Linked DNA regions of Homo sapiens: all the other regions are linked to region 1. The links are contacts of gene promoters, found by promoter capture Hi-C in blood cells and fetal thymus (Javierre and others, 2016). All regions are on one chromosome and are shown on one strand. Each heading gives the region's core, a stretch centred on a gene start or on the middle of the fragment in contact. The rest is flanking DNA. Distances are from core to core; before and after follow the strand shown.

Region 1 (2,746 bases), core at 118-2,617:
GAAAGAAGAGGGCATAAACAATAATACGCACACGAAATAAGTAGCACATAAGAGTACAAACTGGATCCACAAGCAATTCCTACTGCCCTGAAAAAACTATCCTAAGTCCAATTCACATCTGGAGGCGAGGGCTGGAGAGCCCTGAAAAAGGTAAGCAGGTTTTCAAAGACGTCAACGTAAAGTCGCCACCGCCGCCGTCTCCGCCTTTAAGGATTAAAAAAAAAAATAAAAGCCGCCCCTACCTCGGGCGCAAGACCTCAGAGGGAGAGCTGCGGCAGCTGCAGTGGCCTCAGGCCTTTAGCGTCTAAAGACTGGTTGCACCCCGACTCCACCTACCGGGCAACCACGCCGCCAGCCCCGCCTCCGCCTCCACCAATAGCGGCCCGGCGGCCCGGGCACGATGACCAATCGAACGCCGGAGGAGGCGTGGCGTCGCTGGGGGACCACGCGCCGTCCCAACAGGCTGGAAGGGTGCCGCCACGACTGGCCCCTCCAGGTAGGCCGCCGCCCGCGGGCGCACAGCGCTACCCGGCCAGCTCGCTGCGGCATCAACGGCTTCTCAGCGTCAGCGCTATTATCAGGCCTTGTGACCGTCCCAAATCTGCCCGGGTGCCCTTCCACCTGGCAGCCTACTCGCACCTTGTGGGGGCCGCGCGGGCACACTCCCCGGCACGCGTCCAGTCCAGGCCCCGGCAATTCCGCCCTTTACCGGGACATCGGCCCTACAGCGCCTGCCCCCAGGGCTGGCCTGCAGCTCCTGGCCTCTCCTCACTCCCTGCCCCCTTCTCAATTCCCTTAGTCAGACTCCTCTCCCGCCGCATCCTAAATCCTGAGCGCACCCTGGGGCGCGGAAAAGGGTAGCCGAGCCTTAGCAACGCCCCGAATTCTCCGGCCCGAGCCCGCGGTTCGGACCCCTGCCCTTCCTTCCCCGCAGTGCCCTCACCATAAGCGTTTCCACCGTGTCTCCGACATCTTGGGGTTGCAGCAGCGACGGACGTGAGTTCTGAATCATTGGAGATGAGGCCCGCGAGTCCTCTGGGCCCAGGGTGCCGTCGACGGGCGCTTGGGCCCAGCCCTGGAGGCCTTGAAGAAGGCTAGGGGGTGGCGCTAGCCAGGCGACGCGCTTTAAGCCGCGGGCTCTCTGACGTCTGCGCCTATAAGCACGCAGCCGCCGGGGTTCGGATCCTGCTAGTCCAGGGGCTGCGGGCGCGGAACAATCTTGCTGCGGGAATTACGCGCCGCTCTTCACCCGCGCCGCAGACTCCGCGGCTCTGCTCTCCTGCCCATCCTGCCCTGCTGCAGGCTTCAGCACCGTAGGAGATGAGGTTCTGTGTATCCCGGGGTGGAGGAAGCGCCGGAGGAACTCTGTAGAAGGGGAGATTTCGCTTCCGGGTGGGACGCTTGTCACGTGAGGGTGTTCTGAGTGCCACCTGGTGAAAACGCCCAGAACTGAAGGATCCGCGCTTCCTTGCACCCAGAACTTAATGGAGCGTCTGCAGGGAACTTTGCTTTTGCGTGGAACGTCTGAACGTATTTACAATCCAGACCTGGTCTGCCCAGTAAGGCAGCCACTAGCCAACGTGGGCTATTGATTTATTAATTGATACATTAATTTTAATTATATTAAAACAAGCAGTGTGGAATGCTTTCTCCTTAAACAGGCGTTTTTTTGTTTTGTTGTTTTTTTTTCAGGACCATATTTCCCTTTAAATGCTGAAAATTTAGTGTGGAATTGATATGTACTGTATGCATAAACCACACGCTGGATGTCTAAGACTGGTGAGGTAAAATCTCAATAATTTTTATATGTTGAAATGATATTTTGGATATATTGGGTTAGGTGAAATATTAAAATTAACTTCAGGCCGGGGGCAGTGGCCCAGGCCTGTAATCTCAGCACTTTGTGAGGCCTAGTCTGGAGGATTGCTTGAGGGAGCCAAGGAGTTGGAGACCAGCGTGGACGACAAAGCAAGACCCCGTCTCTAAAACAAATAATAATAACTTCATGTGTTTCTTTTTAAATGTGGCTAGTAAAACATTTAAACTTTAACATGTGGCTCCCATTACATTTCTGTAGGACAGCGCTGGTCTAGTTGGTCAAAATTCTGGTTTATTGCTCACCTGGAATCTGTCAATGGCTTTTTTGGTCTCCCAACTTCCCCTTATGCCTGTCTGGCTGATCCATGGAAAAGCATTACTGCTGGGATCCTGACACTCCTGTTGAAAATGCAGTGGCCCTGGTAATAAAGTCCAAGCTTTTCATAGCAACCTTCGCTACTTTCCACCTTCATTCATCACCCAAGAACTAGATCAGAAAGGAAAGTGACTTAGGGAGCAAGATAATATTTTTTCAGGCTTCATTCCTGTGCTTCTGAGGTACATAGAACAGGAAGGAAAGTGGTCCCAGAGGAGGTTATTCCCAGAAAGGATTAAGGAAAGTATAAACATTAAAAAAAAAAAAAAAATTACAGGCCGGGTGCGGTGGCTCACGCCTGTAATCCCAGCACTTTGGGAGGCCGAGGCGAGCCGATCACGAGGTCAGGAGATCGAGACCATCCTGGCTAACATGGTGAAATCCCGTCTCTGCTAAAAATATAGCCGGGTGTGGTGGCAGGCGCCTGTAGTCCCAGCTACTCGGGAGGCTGAAGCAGGAGAATGGCGTGAACCCAGGAAGTGGAGCTTGCAGTGGGCCGAGATCGTGCCACTGCACTGCAGCCTGGGCGACAGAGCGAGACTCCATCTCAAA
Region 2 (2,746 bases), core at 69-2,568, 320 kb after region 1:
CTTGTGAAAACAGGGGATCAACTGAAAACAATTACACCTAAGAAAAAGTCAATAAGCTGGCTGGCAGCCAGAAGTAAAACTTTCTAATGTAATGAAATAAACAGTTAAAAATTAACTCAAGATGGACTAAAGACTTAAATGTTAAGACTTAAAACCATAAAAACCCTAGAAGAAAACCTAGGCAATACAATTCAGGACACAGGCATGGGCAAAGACTTCATGACTAAAACACCAAAAGCAATGGCAACAAAAGCCAAAATTGACAAATGAGATCTAATTAAACTAAAGAGCTTATGCACAGCAAAAGAAACTATCATCAGAGTGAACAGGCAACCTACAGAATGGGAGAAAATTTTTGCAATCTACCCATCTGACAAAGGGCTAATATACAGAATCTACAAAGAACTTAAACAAATGTACAACAACAACAACAACAAAAACAACCCCATCAAAAAGTGGGCAAAGGATATGAACAGACACTTCTCAAAAGAAGACATTTCTGCAGCAGACACAAGAAAAAATGCTCATCATCACTGGCCATCAGAGAAATGCAAATCAAAACCACAATGAGATACCATCTCATGCCAGTTAGAGTGGCAGTCATTAAAAAGTCAGGAAACAACAGATGCTGGAGAGGATGTGGAGAAATAGGAATGCTTTTACACTGTTGGTGGGAGTGTAAAGTAGTTCAACCACTGTGGAAGACAGTGTGGCGATTCCTCAAGAATCTACAACTAGAAATACCATTTGACCCGGCCATCCCATTACTGAGTATATACCCAAAGGATTATAAATCATTCTACTATAAAGAAACATGCCCACGTATGTTTATTGCAGCACTATTCACAATAGCAAAGACTTGGAACCAACCCAAATGTCCATCAATGATAGACTGAATTAAGAAAATGTGGCACATATACACCATGGAATACTATGCAGCCATAAAAAAGGATGAGTTCATGTCCTTTGCAGGGACATGGATGAAGCCAGAAACCATCATTCTCAGCAAACTATCACAAGGACAGAAAACCAAACACCACATGTTCTCACTCGTAAGTGGGAGCTGAACAATGAGAACACATGGACACAGGGCAGGGAACATCACACACTGGGGCATGTTGGGGGGTAGGGGGCTGGGGGAGGGATAGCATTAGGAGAAATACCTAATGTAAATAACAAGTTGATGGGTGCAACAAACCAACATGGCACATGTATACTTATGTAACAAACCTGCACGTTGTGCACATGTACCCTAGAACTTGAAGTATAATAATTAAAAAAAATTATCTCAAGTACCTATAGTGATTCTATTAGGAACAATTATACCCTTTCTCCACATCTTAAACCAAAAACGAATTTTTCTATGAATTAAAGACTGAAATTTAATAACCATAAAAATAATTTTTGTTTTTATTTTTTGAGAGAATCTTGCTCTGTCACCCAGGCTGGAAAGCAGTGGCCCGATCTTGGCTTACTACATCCTCTACCTCCCAGGTTCAAGCAATTCTCGTGCCTCAGCCTCCTGAGTAGCTGGGATTACAGGCATATGCCACTGTGCCCAGCTGATTTTTGCATTTTTAGTAGAGATGGTGGTTTCACCATGTTGGCCAGGCTGGGTTTCAAGTGGTCCACCCGCCTCAGCCTCCCAAAGTGCTGGGATTACAGGCGTGAGCCACTGCACCTGGCCAGCATAAAAATAATTTTTAAAAGACAGGTGAATATTTACATAGTCCCTTGCCAGAGAAAACTCTTCCAACATGCCAAGAAAGATGGTAATCTTTACGAAGGAAAAGAGCAATGGTGATCTGGCCAAATACAAGTCAAAACCTTTTCTATGTACAAGAATGTTCACAGCATTGTGGCATTCACAATAATGTTACAAAAGTGGAAACAACCCAAATATCCATCAATGGACAAAACAAATAAAATGTGATGTGTGTGTGTGCATATATATATATATATATGCACACACACACACTGTACTGACACATGCTATAACGTGGATGAACCTTGAAAATGTGCTAAGTGAAAGAAGCCACATATTTTACAAAAGGCCACATATTTTATGACTCTATTTATATATAATGTCTAGGATAGACAAATCCACACAGAAAGTAGATTAGTAATTGCCAGGAGATTGAAGGAGGGAAAAATGAAAAACGGGGAGTAATTGCTAATGAACATAGAGTAATTAAACATTCTGGAGTTAGGTGACCAATAAACAACTTTCCGAATATACAAAAAAATCACTGAATTGTACACTTTGAAAGGGTGCACTTTATGGTATGTGAATTTTATCACAATGTTATTATTTTCTTAAACCTTCTGAATGTCAAAAAGTAACACGAGCAAGACTAAGAGAATAATGAAATAAATATGAAAGAAAGTTTACTCTTAACAAGATTCCTTATAAAATAAGAAAAAGTCAAATTTACCAACAGAAAGAGGGACAGTTACAAAAAGGGACTTTTTAAAAAAGAAATGGCCAAAAACCCCATAAATAATCAAAGACAAAATTAATATGAGATTATTTTACCTATAATACAAGAATTTTTTAAAATAACTGCCATTTTTGTTTCCCCTGAGGATAAATAAACACTTTCTGACAAAAGTTTTAAACTCTTTGAAATGTTCTTTAAAATTCAATTTCCAGAAATTTGTCCTTTAAAAAGGGCCAGGGCTGCAGACACAAATAGCTACAAGGATGTTGTTTTAACCCAGTCTTTTGGATGCAATTAACTGTAAC
Region 3 (2,746 bases), core at 85-2,584, 300 kb after region 1:
CATTATCCTCAGCACATGACTCTGATTCCTTTTTCTCAAAACAAAGAGAAGCCTTGACAGAATCCCCTTAACTTTCTCTATCATTCTCCCTGGTGCAAGGAAAACGGTGTCCCTTCTGACTGTGCTCCGGTCCCCCTCACCTCTTGCTTCTTGGGATGACCTTGTATTGTCATCTACCCATGAATGTCTCTACTGGCTTCTTCCCAGGAGCAATGAAATATGCTCAAATTTCTTACATCTGAAAAATACCCAAATATCCAAACAAAACCAAACAAAATCAAAAGCTTCCTTTGGCCCTCTGACTCCTACATCTTCTCTAGTTTCCGCCGCTTCCTGCCTACCCCTCCAATCAAATTTCTTCAAAGATTATCCAGTCAAATTTTCTGTTTCTTCACCTTCAAATCACTACTCAACTCACTCTACCTGGCTTTTGCCCTTAAGACTCTACCCAGAGGCCACCCTCTTTATTTAAATCCATGATGTTAGTCACATCTTAAATCAACTCACAGCAGGTTAATGCCACTAACCGCAAGCTTCTTCTTGAAACACTCAATTAGTTCTGGAGCTGCCACTGGCTCTTCATTTTCTTACTCCCCCGCAACTTTTTAAAATCATATACTATTGTGGCTTCCTCTTTTCCCAACATCCCTGAAAGACTGATGACTTAGTTTCTTCTCAGTCTACATATGTCCCTTGGAAACTCTGACATTTCCTATGACATCAAACTGTAACCCACAAGCTGATGACTGCTGAGCCTTTTTCTCCAGCCCAGTTCTTTAACTGTGCATGAGACTGTACAGCTGTCTGCCCACCAAACACCTCTATTCAGATATCCCACAGAAACTCAAATTCAACATCTTTCTCAGCATGTCCTTTTCTCCTGATAACCTGTTTTTCATCTTACATTCCCTACATCACTTCCATTCACCAAACTGGACAATCAAGAAATCTGGGACTCATTCTTGCTTTTTCCTTTCCTCATACTCCTTTCATTAAAGTATCACTCCTGTGGGCAGGCACGGTTGCTCATGCCTGTAATCTCAGCACTGTGGGAGGCCAAGACGGGCAGATCATGAGGCCAGGAGATCGAGACCATCCTGGCCAACAAGGAGAAACGCTGTCTCTACTAAAAATACAAAAATTAGCCCGATGTGGTGGTGCATGCCTGTAATCCCAGCTACTCGGGAGGCTGAGGCAGGAGAATCGCTTGAACCAGGGAGTCAGAGGTTGCAGTGAGCTGAGGTTGCGCCACTGCACTCCAGCCGGGGCAACAGAATGAGACTCCGTATCAAAAAAAAAAGAAAAAAAAAAGTATCACTCTTGTTCACAGGCCTAAATATTTTCCTAATCATTCGATTTTTTCCATCCCCCTTGTTCCCACCCTAGTCTAGACAAATATCACCTTTCACCTGTATTAGTGCAACAGCCTCCTATTATGTACCAGACACTGTGCTTCTCAACATCACCAATAATAGGCACCCCCGACATTTTAGGAATGAAGAAACCATTTTAGAGATGTTCCCTAGCATATTCCGTAGATCACTTGGCGAGTATTTGGCACAGCCAAGGTTAGAATGCAGCTCTGTCCAACTCCCAAGCCAATGTTCCTAAAAAACTCCTGACTGTCCCACACTGTTTAGCCACGTCTATTACACCAGATCATTTGATATCAAAACTTCAAGGTCTAGATATGGGAAGCTGCTAGGTACACAGAAATGCCAATCATGATGTATGCTGGCCCCATCTAAGTAGAAGTACCTCCCATTCAGACAGCAGGATTCTACTCAGGCCTCAGTTAACCAGACCAAGAGTGGGCAACAGACCCATATACAGAAAACAGATAGGTCAACTCTCAAAGAGGAGCTGGCCTGATCAGATTCTCTTGGGTATTCTGGAGACAATTAGGTCCTGGGCAGCATGAGGCGAAGTCCAGCCACAGGACAGAGTTAGGGACACATTTGTGGTAGAGTATCAAAGTGAAGAATCAATAATTTCTGCTGATGAGTTTCTTAGGGCTGTTCTGGATCCTGCCAGTCCCCAAGAGAACCCTCTCTGAAATCAATGTGTTTCTACCCCCACCCCCAACAGGCATCTCTCTATTGTAGAGAAAAACTAATCAGATTTTTGAAGCTTGCCGCAACTAAACTTTCTACTCAAAGAACTAAAGCCTCTCATTCTGAAGCAATGCTCACCAAACAACTGTTTCATAATGGACTTCCCACATAGATGTCCCACAGGGAGCAAAAATGGTAGTCAAGCCAAGGTTTCTGTTCAGTGACAGTCCCTTTTTCCTAGCAAGAAACTTGCCTGTCTTATTCTTTAGTTCATTAAGTGAATCTCTTTTCTTTATAACCAGGAGCTTAACCAAAATACCAGCTGTTTTCAATTCTTCCTTTATAATAAGCTCAACACCTGTCTCGTCCTTTATTTTTATTTATTTATTTAACCTTTCCTATGGTGCTCATGTCTCTTCCTTTAGATCTCCAATCATGACGTCTTCCAGCTTTCAGTTTCCCATTACATACACTAACAACTACTGCCCTCAACATGAGATTTTCCTGCTCTAAAATTATCTAAGGTTCTTCTAGGAGTACAAAAGAAAGGCCAACTTTGGGTCCTGCAGCTTAAGGCTCTTTGGGAAATGACCTAAATGTCATTTTTCAATCTTACACCCCTGTTACTTCCTTATATTTACTCTGGTCTCCAAATAAACAAAACTGCTCACCTTGCCCCAAATAAGCACATA
Region 4 (2,746 bases), core at 62-2,561, 260 kb after region 1:
TAACCACTGGGACTCTGCCCCTTGAAGGAGGAAGTAGGGAAGGACTCAACCTGGTGGAAGAACATTCTAGGGAATTTTGCTTTTGTGCTGAGCAGCCAAGTCCTTTTGTCCTTCATGTCCCTGGTTATGGTGGGAAATCATCCAGAGCAGTGCTCCTCTCCCTCCTGCCCCAACACCCAATACACACCTCCTGGATTCTAGCCTCTGGCCAAGGCATGATTCCAGTAATCCTCCTATTATCGCTCTCACTGCCCCGTGGCATGCTTTCACACTCAGCCTCTGGTGACCCTGAGCTCGTCTTTTTTAGTTTTTGTTTTTCCTGGAACTCTTTGGGGAAAGCTGGTCTACTAAATTCTTTAGCTAACCCATCTCTGCCTATGTTTGCTTATGGGTTTCTAGATCTGCTTCGAATTCCCATGTATTTGACACCATTTGCCTTCCATCTTCTAGAAATGTGAAATTCTTCAAAGTTTCTGGTCCACGCTGCTATGTACTCTTTTTTTTTTTTTTCTTTCTTTTTTTGAGGTGGAGTCTCACTCTGTGGCCCAGGCTGCAGTGCAGTGGTGTCATCTCGGCTCATATCAACCTCCATCTCCCGGGTTCAAGTGATTCTCCGGCCTCAGCGTCCCAAATAGCTGGGATTACAGGTGTCCTCCACCACACCTGGCTAATTTTTGTGTGTTTTTAGTAGAGATGGGGTTTCATCATGTTGGCCAGGCTGGTCTCGAATTCCTGACCTCAAATGACCTGCCCACCTCAGCCTCCCAAAGTATTGGGATTACAGGCGTGAGCCATCACGCCTGGCTCATTACCTTTTAAAGATATCTTTCATTATTTTCATGGGATTTGGGGACAGAGGGAAAGCATGGATTTGAGGGGGTCAGCCTGACATGTTGAACCAGAAGTCAAGATAAACTACTCTGATAAATGTGCTATGCAGATGAGGAGCCTGGAGTTTAGAAAGGAGAAGTGACTTGGCCCCAAACACATAGCCCCTCAGAGCCAGGGCAAGAGTCGGCCTGCCTTGAGCACTGGACCACACAACTTCCTCAACCCAAACCAAATACTGCCACTTCAGAGTTCACCACAGACCATGGAATAGGGGGCTTTAAAAAATGCGTAAAATGGAAATGGCACTGTAGAAAGTTCATTTGGCATTTATAGAAAAGATTTTTAAAGTCACCTGGACAGACAGGGAAATATATAATTCTCAGAGCTACTCTTTTTGGTGGTTTTTCAGCTCAGAGCCCTGAAGGAGGGTCTACAGAGGTGAATCTAGAGGCTCTGCATGTGGGGACTGGTGGTGAGTAGAACTGCCTCCAACCCCGGCCTGGGCAGCCTGAGAAGAGGCAGGGCCCACTGAGTATAAGGTTCAGCCTGTCAGTCTTCTGGGGCAGTCAGTGTAGACAGACATTGGAGGTCTGGTGGAGATCAGAGTGACTCTGATCATACCTCTGAGCATTGCTGTGCCTCTTACATCTATACTTGTGGATTCCCAGAAAGATACCCCATCATACATTGTACCCCAAAATTCACATACCCTTCAAGGAGAATGCTTTCCAGCACCTCTCTTCTGGACCCATGGAAGCTGCCCGGTTTGGCTCCCGACACCCATCCCTGAGCCCTGCCACACCTGCATATACCTGTCAAACCAGCCATGCCATCCTTGTCCAGTTTCATGGCTTCTGAATACCACAGCAAGGCCTCTTTCACTTGGTTCTTCAGGATGAAGAGATAGCCCAGTTCTGTGGCCACATGGACATACGAGGGGGTGGCCATGAAGGTGCGCTCGATGAAACTACACACTAGCCCTAGAATCACCTGGTGACTCCCACACTGCAAGAAACAGGAAGGTGGGAATTGGGAAACCAGTCAGTCCAGCCTGTATGAGCAAGGTCATGTCAGAAACGGGGGACACTTTGGTAGGCAGGGCTGGTAGGCCCAGGAGAGCCAAGAGGTACCGTGTGTCTAGGCAGCTGGGTCTGTGTTGCTGTCTGGCTCCCAAGGAACCTCTCACTGGCCACAACTGTGGAACCTGCCTCTAGCCACAGGGTCCTCTGAGGGACCTATCCCCTGTCTGGTCACAGTAATTGGTCTAAGGAGTCACCAAGAGGTTTTTCAAAAATTGAAGCTGAATGTGTCCAGTAATAAGAAGTGGCCCCAAAGGCTGCCATCAGCCATGTTCCCTGCCATGTGTGGAGAACAAGGCAGAGAGAATCAGACATACAGAGGGAGAGATGGTGCCTATGCAACTCCACAGTTCTGGTTCCTGGGGTCCCAGAGTTGCCTTCATTCTTACAGCAACTACTTCTAGTAAATCTTGCTTTGGGGCTGAAGGGTCTGAAAGAGATACAGATTTGTTGGCAACCTGGTCTAGTTGAACCTTCCCTGATGTTTGAGAGGCCTAGGCAGGCCAGCCTTCTCAGGTCACCTCCACAAAAAAGAATATGGGAGATGGGCACCCAGGCACTAGAGGCTAGAGCTGGGTGTGGCTCTGCTGCATAACAGCTGCAATACCACCCGCTTTCCCCAAATAAGGCACAGCCCACTCCAAAAGCACTTTCAGACCCCGTCTCCCTGATCTTCATGGCATCTCTGAGGGGGCACCTAGGCTAAGGATGTAGAACCCACATGTCACAGTTATCAGCCAGAGGCAAGTAGGCACAGCAGGATATGAGCCACTACCCTAAAGGACAAGTTTGAGCCAGAAGGGAGGGGTAAGGCACTCAAGGAGCTTCCTGGGGGA

The links. The method cuts DNA at HindIII sites, captures the fragments that hold promoters and counts their contacts. A CHiCAGO score of 5 or more calls a contact.
Region 2: a fragment that was not itself captured here is called in contact with the fragment with the promoter of SLC25A38 in region 1 in 6 of 17 cell types (total B cells, fetal thymus, total CD4 T cells and 3 more); the score reaches 6.7 in total B cells.
Region 3: a contact is called between a fragment that was not itself captured here and the fragment with the promoter of SLC25A38 in region 1, in 3 of 17 cell types (naive CD8 T cells, total CD8 T cells and activated CD4 T cells). The highest score is 7.5, in naive CD8 T cells.
Region 4: a contact is called between a fragment that was not itself captured here and the fragment with the promoter of SLC25A38 in region 1, in 2 of 17 cell types (activated CD4 T cells and total CD8 T cells). The highest score is 9.0, in activated CD4 T cells.

Annotation. Positions count from the first base shown.
Region 1 is chr3:39,381,991-39,384,736 of GRCh38, reverse strand. It overlaps SLC25A38 (solute carrier family 25 member 38), which reads right to left and starts at 1,367. Exons shown (of 7, transcript NM_017875.4): 1 at 944-1,367. The coding sequence starts at 1,012. LOC105377644 (a long non-coding RNA gene) reads left to right here and starts at 412. Exons shown (of 3, transcript XR_007096252.1): 1 at 412-496; 2 at 1,693-1,784. RefSeq lists enhancers at 159-228, 699-748, 759-858, 879-1,058 and a silencer at 319-468. The HindIII fragment of the contact is 12,754 bases long and covers 1-2,257 here.
Region 2 is chr3:39,059,638-39,062,383 of GRCh38, reverse strand. The region is part of intron 1 of WDR48 (WD repeat domain 48); the gene reads right to left. Among named protein-coding and RNA genes, the nearest start is that of WDR48, 9.0 kb to the right of the region's middle. The HindIII fragment of the contact is 9,058 bases long and covers 1-2,746 here.
Region 3 is chr3:39,080,844-39,083,589 of GRCh38, reverse strand. All of the region lies in intron 11 of WDR48 (WD repeat domain 48), which reads right to left. Among named protein-coding and RNA genes, the nearest start is that of GORASP1, 25 kb to the left of the region's middle. The HindIII fragment of the contact is 1,597 bases long and covers 536-2,132 here.
Region 4 is chr3:39,120,087-39,122,832 of GRCh38, reverse strand. It overlaps TTC21A (tetratricopeptide repeat domain 21A), which reads right to left. Exons shown (of 29, transcript NM_001366900.1): 9 at 1,644-1,836. Among named protein-coding and RNA genes, the nearest start is that of TTC21A, 14 kb to the right of the region's middle. The HindIII fragment of the contact is 4,421 bases long and covers 1-2,746 here.